4 separate regions of the Homo sapiens genome follow, and all the other regions are linked to region 1. Evidence: promoter capture Hi-C in 16 types of primary human blood cells and fetal thymus (Javierre and others, 2016). All regions are on one chromosome and are shown on one strand. Each heading gives the region's core, a stretch centred on a gene start or on the middle of the fragment in contact. The rest is flanking DNA. Distances are from core to core; before and after follow the strand shown.

The links. Contacts are between HindIII fragments. The CHiCAGO score rates a contact against its expected background, and 5 or more counts as called.
Region 2: a contact is called between a fragment that was not itself captured here and the fragment with the promoter of INCENP in region 1, in 1 of 17 cell types (neutrophils). The highest score is 6.5, in neutrophils.
Region 3: a contact is called between a fragment that was not itself captured here and the fragment with the promoter of INCENP in region 1, in 1 of 17 cell types (M2 macrophages). The highest score is 6.0, in M2 macrophages.
Region 4: a contact is called between the fragment with the promoter of SCGB1D4 here and the fragment with the promoter of INCENP in region 1, in 5 of 17 cell types (M2 macrophages, M1 macrophages, megakaryocytes and 2 more). The highest score is 9.1, in M2 macrophages.

What each region holds. Positions count from the first base shown.
Region 1 is chr11:62,122,343-62,126,065 of GRCh38, forward strand. INCENP (inner centromere protein) reads left to right here and starts at 1,669. Exons shown (of 19, transcript NM_001040694.2): 1 at 1,669-1,821. LOC124902681 (a long non-coding RNA gene) reads right to left here and starts at 1,369. Exons shown (of 2, transcript XR_007062697.1): 1 at 1,315-1,369. RefSeq lists enhancers at 1,280-1,369, 1,900-1,969, 1,959-2,540. The HindIII fragment of the contact is 13,511 bases long and covers 1-3,723 here.
Region 2 is chr11:61,898,873-61,902,595 of GRCh38, forward strand. It overlaps RAB3IL1 (RAB3A interacting protein like 1), which reads right to left. Exons shown (of 10, transcript NM_013401.4): 8 at 3,570-3,669; 9 at 442-508. Among named protein-coding and RNA genes, the nearest start is that of FADS3, 9.2 kb to the left of the region's middle. RefSeq lists a silencer at 147-196 and enhancers at 547-596, 564-1,535, 647-716. The HindIII fragment of the contact is 1,020 bases long and covers 1,555-2,574 here.
Region 3 is chr11:62,321,478-62,325,200 of GRCh38, forward strand. No RefSeq gene overlaps it. Among named protein-coding and RNA genes, the nearest start is that of ASRGL1, 14 kb to the right of the region's middle. RefSeq lists an enhancer at 3,706-3,723. The HindIII fragment of the contact is 2,302 bases long and covers 932-3,233 here.
Region 4 is chr11:62,297,104-62,300,826 of GRCh38, forward strand. It overlaps SCGB1D4 (secretoglobin family 1D member 4), which reads right to left and starts at 1,972. Exons shown (of 3, transcript NM_206998.2): 1 at 1,853-1,972; 2 at 369-555. The coding sequence starts at 1,907. The HindIII fragment of the contact is 1,500 bases long and covers 1,144-2,643 here.

The DNA of each region.
Region 1 (3,723 bases), core at 419-2,918:
CACACTGCCAAATGTGGGGGGCGGAGGTGGGATAAAACCTCCTCTGCATGAGAACCACTTCTCTCAAGAAACGTCCAGTACCAGGGTAGGTGACCAAGGATTCTGTCGCCCAAGAGATGACAGAAGGCTCTAGATAAACGCACACTCCGTTGCCATTCACAAGGCGTTTTGTTTTTACTTCTCAAAAGCGGCAGAGATTTTTTTTTTGAGACGGAGTTTTTTGCTTTTTGTGGCCCAGGCTGGAGTGCAATGGCGCGATCTCGGCCCACTGCAACCTCTGCCTCCCGGGTTCAAGCGATTCTCCTGTCTCAGCCTCCCGAGTCGCTGGGATTACAGGTGCAAGCCACCACGCCCGGCTAATTTTTTTTTGTATTTTAGTAGAGACAGGGTTCCACTGTGTTGCCCAGGCTGGTCTCGAACTCCTGAGCTCAGGCAATCCACCCGCCTCGGCCTCCCAAAGTGCTAGGATTGCAGGCGTGAGCCACCGCGCCCGGCCAGAGATTCTTTTTTTTTTTTTTTTTTTTTTTTGAGACGGAGTCTCGCTCTGTCGCCCAGGCTGGAGTGCAGTGGCGGGATCTCGCCGGCCAGAGATTCTTTATAGGACATATTAGTCCTTGTCTTTCCCCCCCCGCCTCCATATTGGAAAGATGAACTAATTGAAATATGACTTAGTAAAAACATTGTGCCAACTTGAAACCTTGATTTAGTAAAACATCTCAATGTTTAGATCCTTTGTCCAATGGTAGTATTTATCAGATGTATTCAGCTTGCTCAGAAAACCAAAAGGGCATTACAACCACAAAAGCAAAGAAAAATAAGAAAACGTCCCATGTTTGGATCTTGTTCTACTTGTAAAGATTAAATTGAAATGATTAGGCTTTTCGATTCATGAGCCAAATACCGTAACACCCTGGCCTTTGATGGGTTTGGATTTTTAACATTACTCCTGAGATTTCAGGAAGTGGGGTTACAGTTACACTCCTTATAGCTGCTAAGTGTATTAAGTTGAATGTAAGGATGCATAATATTGTTTGAATTGAGCCCCACTACCAATTCTTTAAAAAATGGCATGAATTCCTATACGTAAATGATTTGGTGGAACTATTCCATCATAATTTCTAAATTGTTTATATACCAAGGTAGCCTTAATTTGTATATGTTTCAGTACAATGAAATTTTACTCCCTCTGGGATGCTGTTTGGTTTGTATTTTGAGGAATGTTTTTCTCATGGGAAGAGGAACCTATGACTTCTGTACCTAGATAATTTGTTACATTAAAAAGCTGGTCTTTCAGCAATGTAAGTATATACATACATGTTTTTATGAGGAAAAAAAAGCAGCAGAGATCAGAAGACTGCCACCGTGCTTGGAGAAGAAAGAAAGCCGCGCGTGGCCTTCGCAGTGCTCGCCGGGACTCGTAGTTCCAGGTCTGCGGGCTCCTCCCAGGCGGGGATCTACTTCCTCTCTCGGCCGCGGCCGCAGCACCCGGAAGCTGAGGGGGCTTAAAGTCTTTCGCTTCCTTTCCCCGCCTCTTAGTCCCGCAGATTGCTAGTGGATATGGCCAATAGGAGGGCTGACTGGTACTTCCTGTTATTTGATTGGCTTAAAATTTTGCAACCGCCCGGACAAACTTGCCGAGGATTGGCTGAGCCTTCAGTTTTGAAAATCATAGTTTTCGCCCGCGCTGCGCCGCCTGGTTGCTCCTCCCGTGCGGTGAGTCCCGAAGGCCCGGAGCCAAGTGGGTCTGGGCAAGCGGGGCCTTACCTAGGGATACCACCGGACTTGGATCGGAGCAGCCTTCAGGGGACGTGGCGCAGTCGAGTGAGTGCGCGTGGGCGTGGGGATTGGGGGGTGGTTCGCGATTTTTTCCCCGGTCCTCTGCTCCGTCCCTGTCGACTCCGGACCAGGGTCGTGACTCCCCACCCCAGCCCCTGGCTACCTGGGCATATGAGGGTCACCTCTTCCAAGTGGCGAGGTCGCCTGCCTTGGTTCTCGGGCCCGAGATGCCTCCCACCCTTTCCACCTAGGCCCTCAGCTTCCTAGAGCATAGCCCCGTTCCCTCCGCTCCCGGCTGCTTGGCACCTTGTGCCTGTGAGGATTAGTGTTGACTTGGACGCGCAGGAAGCCCGAAACCAACCCGGTTGTTTGGCGGAATGATGCCAGATGGCATTTCTGTGCAGTTAAACCCCTCTCTCAACGCCCCCGCCCCCAGCTGAGCAGCATTTTAAACTGACCATTTCCGGAGGCTGGGCCGCCCCTTGTCACTCCCCAAGCCTGTTCGCTGTCAGCGGTTCAGTCTCATTCAGCTAACATGGGTTGCTCGCGGGGTTGCCCAGAGCCAAGACTGGGCACCTGCCTTTCAGAAGTTGATATCTAGAAGGCGGTATAGCCAGTGGTTAAGGGCACGGTTTAAAGGCGGTATAGCCCGTGGTTAAGGGCACGGTTCTATTTATGCCCCTGATTTACCGGCTGATTTTGACTTCTCTTTGCCTCAATTTCCTCATCTGCCCATGCGTATCCTCAAGGTTGTGGTGAGAATTAAATGAGATGATGTCTGACTCGGGCATGGAGTATGACTCAGTAAATGGGAGCAGCTGCTATGCGCTTTCTGCACAGAGGTGTGGTAGGCGCCCAACTTACAGCACCCTGAAAAGGACAGGAGTCATAGAGGAGGACGATGGGGCCTTCAGTCTGGTGTATGGTGTGGAAGAAGTGTTGGAGAGGAGGAAGACTGGAGAGTGTCTTCCTCGGTGAGGTGTTGAGTGCTCTTTATCTGTGTGCAGGTGCTTACATGGGTTGAAGAAGAGATTTTTGCTGCTCTTCCAGGAGCCTGATTCTTGGTACACTGATTCCTTCTTTTTCAGGGTCACCTCTGTTTTAACTTACGGTAACCCTTTTTAAATCGTTGCGCTAAGGTCTGCTAGAAGCAAACCTCCCCGTGAAAGAAGTCCAATTGCTTTCATGGACTTTGTGAAAGAAGCTCTCATCCACGTTGCCCATTTGAACAAATACTTTTTAAAAAGTTAGCCAGTTGTTGCTTTTCTCTGCAAACCTTTGGCTTCCTTAAACAGTTTTCTCTTTTCTGGCCTGAGGTCCTGCGCTTTGCCAGGGCTGTGGTCTGGGTGCAGAAGGGTTAGGGGAAGGTGAGGGATGACAGTGAAAAGGGCTTGCCCATGATTGGCTGGCTGCAGAGCCGAGGTTTCAGCCCAAAGCCTGTACGATCCTGCCCATTTGGCCCTGCCCTGATTATTGCTGCCCTTGGCATCTGGGAACAGGGGTTTTGAACATGTGTTGGTCAGTTCTAACCTGTGCAGATTAAGTTTATTTGGTGCCCTTTGTGTGGTGGGATGAGCACCTATAGGATGTTTATTTCTAGGTGTAGAGTTGATGGGTGGATTAATTCATTTAACAAATAGTCCTTGTTGCCAGGCACTGCTGTGCTCTGGGCATTCAACGATGAGCAAGACAGACAGGGGTTTGCCCTCAGAGAGCAATTGTTTAGTGGGCAGGGACAGGCAGTAAGCAACAGGTAAACAAGCACGCAAGTGCTCTGCAGAGAATTACAATCAATGAATGGGATCATGGCTGGGGCTACTTTAGATTGGTTTTCAGGTTTTCCTGAGGATCTGAGATCCAAGCCATGAGGAGTGAGCCATACAAAATGTGAGACAATGTTCCAGACGCAGGGCAGAGCTTGTTGAGGAACAAAGACTACTGTGTCCT
Region 2 (3,723 bases), core at 815-3,314, 220 kb before region 1:
AGACTCAGCAGCGAGCAAAGGTTGGTGGAGGAGCGGGGAGCCAGGCCTTGCAGAATGGGCTGTGGGGGGAGGGGGTGGAGGGAGGCCCTGTCCAGCATGGAGTGGAGTGGGAGCAAAGGCTGGAGGTGGGTGACCCTGTGTTCAGGTGACCAGGAGGAGGGGCCACCACCTCCAGGGCCAGGGAGAGATTCACAGGGGTGGCCCCCTTGTGCGGGGCCGGGAGAGGTTTGGGGACAGGAGAAAGACCAGCCGGACGGACTCAGGTACAGAGCTCAGCACCCAGGAAGTTTGTGAACGCTTTACTAAACCACAACCCTCCCCGCTCCCCAGCCTCCTAGCTGAGTCTTGCCTCCACTAGGGGCAGGTGGGCCCAGAGGGCACTTCCCCATCCAGCCCCACTCCCGTGTGCGATCCCTGCACCGGCCACCAGGGGGCGCTCACCGTCCTGCCGCACCAGGCCTTGCTGGATGTAGCGGATGTAGGTGAAGAAGTTGCACACTGCGGTGATCTGTGGGCAGAGGTGGGGACGGTGTGACCTGCCAGCCCCACGCTGGGGGTCCCCTGACAGGCGGATCTGAGTCCAGAGCAGGAGGCCCCAGGTCCCTGCAGAGCCAGGCAGTGCTCCCTGACTCAGCTGGGACTGGGCTTTCAAGTAGTAATCAACAACAGCATGACTAGCCCTGCTGTAATAGCAGCAGCAGCAGCAGCAGCCATTTCATCAAGCGCCTGCAGCGAACGGAGCAGACGCGCTTATTATTCCATCTTACATGGGGGAAAGCGGAGCCACCCGGGGAAAGCCGCTGACATCCATCACGGAGATGGCGGAGCTAATGAACCAGCATGCAGCAGAGCTGTGAGATGAACCGGGCAGGCTGTCCCGGAGTCTACACTCGCCCTCTCACAGGCCGGCTTGCTCCAGATGCTGGAGTTTTGGGCCAGCCAGGCCTCAGTCCAGTGCTACTGATAACACTGGGAAAGGAAAGGGGGTCAGAAGCCGCTCACCTGGGCTGCCCGGGGCCCCTGGGGCCTCAGGCCTGCTCCATGCCAGGCCCCGGGGACCCTGTGTTGGCTCAGACACTGCTATGAGGACTCACACCACGGAGAGGGTACTGTTGGTGCCTGGCCCAGGGCCCCTTCCCAGGCCCGGGCCCCATCTCCCAGCTGCTGAGAGTGGGGGCACTAATGGCTCAGAGGTGCCCCCCTCTGTACTCACTCCTCCTGTAGACCTCAGCCGATGACTGACTTGTGTGGAGATAGAAAGGACAGTCCCCTTGCCTCAGGGTGGAATCAACTCTGCTAAGAGCCCGGTGGATGGGGCTGAAGCTGGGCTGTAGCTAAGGCCACATCCTGGCTGGACTCCCCCGTCCCTTCCCTCATTCTCCTGGGAGCTGCACACAATCTCCAGGTGAGGCTCTGCCTCTTCGGAACCCAGCCTAAGACAGGGTGGAAGGTAGCCGGCGGCTGTGCCCGCCCGCAACAGCCCCTACTGAATGTCCAACACTCCTGGGGAGGGACATCAAGTGAGAGGGGCACCCGCAGGCTGGGGAGTGGAGAAGCTTCGGGGAGGGGCGGGACGGTGGTGGCCTGGCAAAGATAGGGAGGTGCGAGAGAGCGGGGCGAGGTCGGGGGACCAGCCCGTCGTGGCAGGGACACCGCTGCACAGGGAGGGTTGAGGAGAGGCTGCGGCAGGAGGGTGGGGCAGGGCAGAGCTCAGGACAGGAGCAGGGACAGTGGATGCCCACAGAGGCTCATGAGCAGGGAGTAGCAGGGAGGGGGCTTTCCCTCTCCAGGGAGTGTGCTAGGGAGAAAACACTTCTCCCTGTGGACCCCACATGTCTTGGTCTTTCAGGGCAGGGACCACATCCTAAAACTTCAGACCCTCCTCACCTCATCTCCCACCCCCAGCTTCATCCAGTGCAGCAGGACACCCAGGCCAGGGACTTAAAGTGCTAGAGGTGACATTGTTGAGCACGGGAACATCTTTTGTGGGGCCTGCTGTTGAGCCATGGTTGGGCCTGGAAAGCGGTGATGGAGATAAGTGGCCACTGAACAAGGCTCAGTGGGCACAAATCCACAGGGTAGGGGCTGCAGTGGACTCAGAGCCAGGATCCCAGGTCTCGGTGTGTGGCCCTGAACACACCCCTTTCCTCTGCCAAGGCTCAGCCTCCCTTTTGGTAAATGGGTGCTCAGCACACCGCTGGGAGGACTCACGCTCGGATGCCTTGTGGAGTTCATCAAGGACAGTATAGTCTGCTGCCAGCAAAGGGACCATTTGTCCCCTTTAGACCTGCTCCCCTGCGAGGAGCCTCTAGCAGGCCTGAGATGGTTCCTCAAGCTGTGTCACTGGAAACGTGTTTCCAAACATGTTCTCTTGTTCCCCTCAATCCTCTTAAGAGTCAACAGAGGGACAGAGGAAGAGGAATCCCTGTCCTCAATCCCCAGCTTGGTGAGAACCCCTGTCCTGGTCTGGGTCACTCGGCAGGGGAGGGTGGGAGCTGGGATTCCTAGAGGCCCCTTGGCACTCACGGCCGACTTAAGGCTGGTGCACCAGACGCACCGCTGAACCTTTTCCAAAGCTTCGGCCAGCACCTGAGTCTGGGCGTCAGGAGCCCCGCACTCTAACTGGAACTCTAGCATCACTCCTGGATTAGGTGACATTGAATGACAGAGGGGGGCGATGTCATCCCATGACATTTCATACATAAGGCTGCATCTCAGCCGACTGGAGAGTGGCCCTCCTGATGGCTCTGAAGTCAGCTGCCCTGTGCAACAAGGCCCTGTGGCAGGGGACTGCGGGTGTCCTCTAGAAGCTGAGGGTGTCCCCTTGCCAGCAGCCAGCAAGAAAATAGGGGCCTCAGTCCTTCAAACACAAGGAACTGAATGCTGCCAACAATGTGAGTTTTGAGGAGGACCCTGACTTCCAGAAAGGAACACAGTCTGCTGACAGCTTACTGCGACCTTGCAAGTCCCTGAGCAGAGAATCCAGTAAGTAAGTAGTGCTTAGACTCCAACATGGGGAACTGCGCTATTTTAAGCTACCAGGTTGATAGTAATTTGTTACACCGTAATAGCAAACCACTGCCCTTGGCTTGGCTGTGTGGCCCGAGTCAGTCTCTGCGCCTCTCTGAGCCTGTACCCTGCTCTGTAAATCAAGATGTAAGGCTGGGCGTGGTGGCTCACACCTATAATCCCAGCACTTTGGGAGGCCGAGGCAGGCAGATCACTTAAGGCCAGGAGTTCGAGTTCAGCCTGGCCAACGTGGTGAAACCCCATCTCTACTAAAAATACAAAATTAGCTGGGCGTGGTGGCACATGCCTGTAATCCCAGCTACTTGGGAAGCTGAGGCAGGAGAATTGCTAATGTCTGCCTGGGAGGCAGACATTGCAGTGAACTGAGATTGTGCCACTGCACTCCAGCCTGGGTGACAAAGACTCTGTCTCAAAAAATAAATAAATAAAATAAGTAAATCAAGGTGTAGTGCTATTCATACTCCCAGGCCCAGGGCCCAGTGTCCCAGCACCCAGGTGGCCCCAAAGGAGTCAAGTAACGCTTGCAAAGGCTGACTCACCCTGGCCCGGGAAGATGGCGAGATGTAGTAATGGCTTTTGGAGTCCCCGAGCCGGATTCGGTGGCGGCAGGTGCGGGTCAGCCCGCTCAGGGCACATGTGCTAGGGGAAAGCAAAATGGGTCACGGGGGCTGGCTGGGGCTTGCCCCTCTCCCT
Region 3 (3,723 bases), core at 833-3,332, 200 kb after region 1:
CTATAGGAGGGGAGGAGCCTAGGATTCTGTTGCTGACACTCCAGCTTCTGTTGCATCCCCTCCCCACTTTTCCGAAAGGCACAGCAACTCCTTGGGTCATCGTACATTGGCAGGAGGAAGCTGGGTTTGCCATCAGAAAAAGAGGATGACCTCGGTTAACAAAAGTAAAACATTTGGGAGGCCAAGGCGGGTGGATCACCTGAAGTCAGGAGTTCGAGACCAGCCTGACCAACATGGTGAAACCCCATCGCTACTAAAAATACAAAATCAGCTGGACATGGTGGCACATGCCAGTAATCCCAGCTACTTGGGAAGCTGAGGTGGGAGAATTGCTTGAACCCGGGAGGCAGAGGTTGCAGTTAAGCCGAGATCGCACCATTGCACTCCAGCCTGGGCAACAAGAGCAAAATTCCATCTCACAAAGAAACACAAACAAAAACAAAAATAAAACAACAGGAATGCCAACAAGGAAAGGCAGCTCTGGGTCAGCAAGCACACCCTTCTTTGTCCAAAGGGCAGAACACAACACGAGCAGCAGAGAAGGAGCCCAGGATAACCTGGAGGAAGACATCAGCTGGTGGCTGGAAAGGCTGCTCCAGGGTGTGTCAGGCAAATTAAATGAACTCAGCCAAGACTATTTTATAAAATAATAATCATGTCCAATATATTATTCTATTCTACATCTCATAAAGTACTTTCACATACATTATTTCTTCTCATTAATCAATTGAAAGGAACATATTCTAGAGTGGCTCCTGGAAGAGAATGGTCTAGATTTATTTGAGCATAGGGAGGATAACAATGTTAGTCCAGCTCAGAAGAAGCAAGTGAGGCTGCCAGGGTCACCCCAGGCAGACACTCGGCACAGGAATTTCAGCACGGGCCCTTGACCCTAAGATGCACAGGAATGGAACACTCAGGCTTCATTTTAAGCTTTCCCTGCTTGTGAAGGTTAATTTCAGGTGTCAGCTTGACTGGATTAAGGGATACCCAGATAGCTGGTAAACCACTATCTGTGGGTGTGTCTGTGAGGGTGTATTCAGAAGAGGTTGGCATTTGAATCACTGGGAAGATCCACCCTCACCCAGTGTGGGCCCAATCAGCTGAGGGCCCACGTAGAACAGAAAGGCAGACAAAGGGTGAATTTGCTCTTGCTGTCTCTCTGCTGGAGCTGGGACACCCTTCTTCTCCTGCCCTAGGCAATAGGAACTTCAGGTTCTCTGGCCTTTGGACTCTGGAACATACATCAGCTGCCTCCCAGTTTCTCAGGCCTTCAGCCTCAGACTTCCATTTCACAATATCAACTTGTCTGGTTCTCAGGCCTTTGGGCTTGGACTGAGACACGCTTCAGGCTTCCCTGGTTCTCCAGCTTGCAGCTGGCCTGCCATGGGACTTCTCAGCCTCCATCCTCACATAAGCCAATTCCCCTAACAAATCCCCCTATATATTTATACAAACATATAGTTATATATAATCTCCTATTGGTTCTGTCTCTCTAGAGAACCCCAACTAATACACTGCTCTACACAGCTCTACAGTAATGGAGGTCTAAATGATAATCTAAGTAAAATGTTTGCTAACTACCTGCCATCTCTAATTAGCTACACCATTAGCTAGATCAAATAGCTAATCAACTAGCTAGACCAACATGCAAAGGAGAGAATCCTCCTCTCATTACACATACTTCTGGAAAGGCTAATAAGTGTAGAAGAAAGAAAAGTGTCAATCGCCTAACTCAGGATCAACAAACTTTCTGCAATGGGCCAGGAAGAAAATATGTGAGGCTTTGTAGGCCACCATCGTCTGTTCCAGCTACTCAACCCTGCCACTCTAGGGTGAAAGCAGCCAGAGACAATATGTAACAAACAAATGAGTGTCAACTAATGAGAAATAAGGGCTGGACATGGTGGCTCATGCCTGTAATCCCAACAATTTGGGAGGCTGAGGCTGGTGGATCATGAGGTCAGGAGATCGAGACCATCCTGGCCAACATGGTGAAACCCTGTCTCTACTAAAATACAAAAAATTAGCTGGGCATGGTGGTGCACGCCTGTAGTCCCAGCTACTCAAGAGGCTAAGGCAGGGAAATCACTTGAACCCAGGAGGCAGAGATTGCAGTGAGCCTAGATCATGCCACTGCACTCCAGCCTGAGGACAAAGCGAGACTCCGTCTCCCCCGACCAAAAAAAAAAAAAAAACCCTGCAGGGCAGCAAACAAGAGAGGAATTGCAATGCGGGAGACACAAATCTAGCAAGCAGCTAAATCATGTTCCCTCCAAGTGAGGTTGAGCAGGAGTTTTAGAGGTTTACTGTAAATTTACACAAGTGGGACAACTTAGCATGGTCTATGATTAATGGTGATTGATTGACAGCTTAGAATGTCTCTAGCTGATGATCAGCTTATGTTGGCACAGCTCTCTCCCCAGGAGATTTGTGATCAGGCCCAATATAAATAGGTTAAACTAAATGTACCTGCTTCTTCAGGATGTTTACAGTTTGGCCCAGTTCCACAGGTGACATTCTGTCTGGGTGTGTATAGGCCTGGGTCCAACTCTTCCTACCCACCCACCAACTTTTTAGATGCCTCTGACATAGCCATTTCCATCCTGGATTTCCTTTCATATAAATATGTTTGTTTCCCAAGAAGACTTTATTTCTGAACCCTGAAATTTGATTTCACATAATTTCCATGTGTCAGAAAGTACTGTTCTTCTTTTGATTTTTTTAACCATTTAAAAATATAAAATCCAGGGCCGGGCGCGGTGGCTCACGCCTGTAATCCCAGCACTTTGGGAGGCCGAGGCGGGTGGATCACAAGGTCAGGAGTTCGAGACCAGCCTGGCCAACCTGGTGAAACCCTGTCTTTACTAAAAATACAAAAAATATCTGGGCGTGGTGGCGGGCGCCTGTAATCCCAGCTACTCGGGAGGCTGAGGCAGGAGAATCACTTGAACCCAGGAGGCGAAGGTTGCAGTGAGCCGAGATCACGCCATTGCACTCCAGCCTGAGCGACAAGAGTGAAACTCCGTCAAAAAAACAAAAAACAAAACAAACAAACAAAAACGTGCAGAGGGCAGAGCAGAGGATGCATGCACGTGGAAAATGAGAATAACTCTCTTACCTACCTTCAGCAGTGCTCTAACAATTGCAGCAGATTATACCCCAGAGGTCGCAGGAGGAAAAGACTTAACCCTGAAGGCAGGCCAGCCGCTGGGAGAGCCAAGAAGAGGCAAAGCTTTACGTGCCCTCTAGCCCGCTGCCCACTTCCAGAGCCAGGTAAGTCAGTTCTCCTTCTGAGAAGGTGAGGACTGCCTCCTATGGCTAGATGAAGAGTGATTTCTATAAACAGCCCTGGCTCCGGGCAATGTGGGTACCGTCATGACCATCACAAATATGTTTACATTTGCTAAGATCGCAAACAATCTAAACAACCACCGATAGCGCTGAGACAGAATGGTGTCCAAGATATACTACTGAGTGAGAAGAGGAAATTACAGGTCACCCAGGACATTACGCAAGGCGCACACTATTTGTATCAAAGAAGGGTGGCCACAGACGGAGGAGGCTCCCACCACAGGCCAACTTCATCATTGCAAAGCCTCCGCCAGCCGATCCCTGGGGAAACAGCGCCTCCTTGGGGCCAGAGCGCTGTATCTGCACCCCACACCTCCGCATTGGAGGTGTCAGGATGGCTGAGGCCGCCTTGGAGGGTGGCTGCTTCAT
Region 4 (3,723 bases), core at 722-3,221, 180 kb after region 1:
AGCTGCAAGGGGCTCCTGGCTCTGCAGAAGCTGCACAGGAGCCCAGTTCACCAGCACCCTGTCTGTGGGAGGCCCAGCTCTAGGTCCCCTCAAGCCTCCTCTCCCTGTTCAAATCTCCCACACTCCCTGGGACATCCCATAGTGACCGTGTCCACTGCGTGAGGGTAGGTTGACCTCAGGAAAGATCCCAGCAGGGAGGCGGCCGTGCTTGGCCCTTCACCATCCCTGCCTTGGCCCTAGCTCACTCCCCATGTCCTCAGCACACTCTGGGGACACAGCATCCAGGCAGGTGACCTGACAAGAAACATGCAGGAGGCTGTGTGCAGCTGAGTTGAATTCTGCCTCTGCATAAAGGAGAAAGAAATTACCAGGACTTTTTCAATGAGAGTCGTTTCTTAAAAGATATCTGATCGGTGCAGTGCTTCACTTCCAACTTGGCTGCAAGAGCTTCTGGAGGTGGATTAAGTTTGGCAACTTGGAGGTTTACCGCAGCGTCACTTAAGAATAAGAAGACTGTGATCTCAGAAGCAACAGCTGGGCAGACAAGAGCATGGGCTGCAGCACAAAAATAAAAATATTGTTGATGTTAGGAAAGTCGATTTTTCTCTCATGGCTCCCTGAGGTTACACCAGACAGGATCCCCTGGGTTCTATGTTTCTATACCATTATTGTGCTGATGACAATACCAGAAACTCCAGGTGTGACTTTCTCCGGGTCACACAACAAAGGGAAGAGCTTCATATCCTCAGCTAGACTTCTTTTTCTTTTTTTTGAGATAGGTTCACCCAGACTGGAATGCAGTGGCACAATCTCGGCTCACTGCAGCCTGAATGTCTTGGGCTCAAGCGATCCTCCCTCAGCCCCCAAAGTAGCTGAGACTACCAGTGCCTGCCACCATGCCCGCTTTTGTGTGTGTGTGTGTGTGTGTGTGTGTGTGTGTGTGTTTTGTTTTGTTTTTTTTTTTTGTAGAGATGGGGTTTCGCCATGTTGCCCAGGCTGGTGCTGAACTCCTGAGCTCAAGTGATCTGCCCACTGTGGCCTCCCAAAGTGCTAAGATTACAGGAATGAGACACCATGCCTGGCCCACAGCTTGACTCTTGACAACCATAACCTTACTTCATTCTCATAGCCACTCCTGGCAGAAGCTTTAACCACCAGTGATAAGAGGAGGCTCAAGGAGGGTGAGCATTGTGCCCAAGATCAAGGGGTGGGAAGTGTCGAAGCCCAGGTTCACCCCAGACCTCACATTACATCATCTGACACAGATCCCATTCAGAAGTGAAGCTCAGGCAGAAGAATTCCTAACATTTGCCTGAACTGATTTTTCTATAAAACTTCTTAGATACTGGGGATTAGAAGAAATAGCTCTAAGCAGCCAGGCGCAGTAGCTCATGCCTGTTATCCCAGCACTTTAGGAGGCCGAGGCGGGCAGATCATCTGAGGTCGGGAGTTCGAGACCAGCCTGACCAACATGGAGAAACCCCATCTCTACTAAAAATACAAAATTAGCCAGCTGTGGTGGCCCATGCCTGTAATCCCAGCTGCTCAGGAAGGCTGAGGCAGGAGAATCACTTGAACCCCGGAGGCAGAGGTTGCAGTGAGCCAAGATCATGCCACTGCACTCCAGCCTGGGCAACAAGAGCAAAACTTCTCAAAAAAAAAAAAAAAAAAAGGAAGAAGAAAGAAGAAATAGCTCTAACCTTTATGAATCTTATTCAACAAGCACAGAAAAGGGTTTGGAATTTTGTTTGGTTTTGTGCAGACCCCAACCCAAAGCACAAATAGGTGATCTTGTGCTCAGAAGAGGGTGCATCCCAGGGGCTGGTGCTGGACTCATGACTGATGTACTCACCCTGGTAGCAGCAAAGGGCCAGCGAGACCATCAGGAGACACACTGACAGCCTCATGGTGGCTTATTCGGCTGTGAGCTCAGCTTTCACAATGAGTGATTTGGATTCGACTCCAGGAGCCTGTGTAGTCATGGAGGCCAGGGCTATTTGTACCTAGGGAGCCTGGCTGGTCCTACCTACCGGGGCACCTGGTAGGTCATGAGGCCTGGCTCCCAGCCCGCCCTTCCAAGCCAGGGCTGCTGCCGTCCATCAATGTCACCTCCTTAGGAATCTCTGCATCTGAGTGGGGCGGAGCACAAGACAGCAGCCTTGTGAGAACTCTGCTCTGTGCTCCAGGTGAGTGTTCAGGTACATCTGGAAATGTTCCTGGGATCCTCAATTTCCTTATGAGCTTTTGCTGATTAGTTCTTTTTATCTTTGTAGCAGTGCAGGGGCACAGGTGAATTATGGCTTCACAAGGCACAGGAAGCTGGAAGGCTGTGTTCTCTTTATGGGAGAGCAGGGACATAAGGAGACCCTGCTTTGATCCCCCTGCATGTCTGACAACAAGCAGGCTTGTTTCAGTTGCACATTGGGAAAGTCTAATCCTTCCCCTCAGCCCCTTCCATCACCACCATGTTCACTGCATAGGTACTGAAAACATAGTTGAATACATCCCACCTGTAGAAGATATGCTGAGGAAAAACATCTGCTGCACCTGTTCTCTAGCCTGCCTCACTCCCAAACCTGAATCTTGTTTATACGTGCAGTTATATATATGGCCAAGATTCACATTTTCTATCTATAAAAAGCAAGCTTTCTGTGATGTGTAGCCACCCACGTCTTATCTTAGGGCTGATCTGAAGATTAAATAACCTAACTCTTTTTCTCAAGAGCTTTTGGAGTGTTCAGAGCCAATCATACATCAGTGGGGCTCTAGGCTGGGAAGATAATAGAAGGGAAGAGACAGAGGAACAGGGTGGGTGGTCACTTCCCCCTAACCCCTAGGCTCAAGTTTTCCACTTCAAACCTATCTGTGCTGCCTGGGCCAATCCCATTTTTAAGGGAAAGTGAAGGAAGCCCCCAGACAAAGCAATACACACCCGCCTTCCCTCCCATTGCCGTGCCTTCATGTGGTGTGAGTTTAATCACCAGAAATTTTTCTCTTAAATAAACTTACATTTGAGAGGAGTCACAGCCCAGGCCATAGCTTTCCATTCTCAGCTATGTAGTCAAATCACTTGGAGCTTTTAAAACATACTGACCCCACAGGCTTCTCTCTCTGGCGATTTTGATTCAGTAGCATTGGGGTGAATCCCTCCTTTCTGTACTGTTTAAACTGCTCTGGTGTTTCTCACAGACAGCAGGGCTGAGATCCAGCCAGGAAAACCTTTAAGAAGGAAGGGGACCTTACGGGTTTTGTCATCAAAGACACATTGACAGATTTAGTTGAGTCCAAGCTGAGGGCAACAGTGGATCTCACTTTCATCACACAGGATGACGACGGAGTCCCTGAATCAGCCCTGCTGCCACCAAGGAGGGGGAGGGTTGGTGGTGAGGTTTACAGCTATGAGGGTTCAGATCCTCATTTATGGGCTCCTGGACCTTAGGAAAATTATTCAGTTTATGTAACCCCAGTTTTCTCATTTGTCAAAGTAGGCTACTAATGGTGCCTACATCATTGGGTTGATAGATGATCAAATGAGTGTGTTCATGGGTGTGTGTGTGTTTAAAATATACCAAGTTCTGGTACATAGTAGTTCTCAATGTAAACTGCCATTATCTTGTCCCATTTGTCATATATGTCATGGTTTGCCAGTAGTTCCTAGTTTAGAGCACAGCCAAAATCCACTAAATCACCTACTTGCAGAACTACACGGACACCTAGATACAC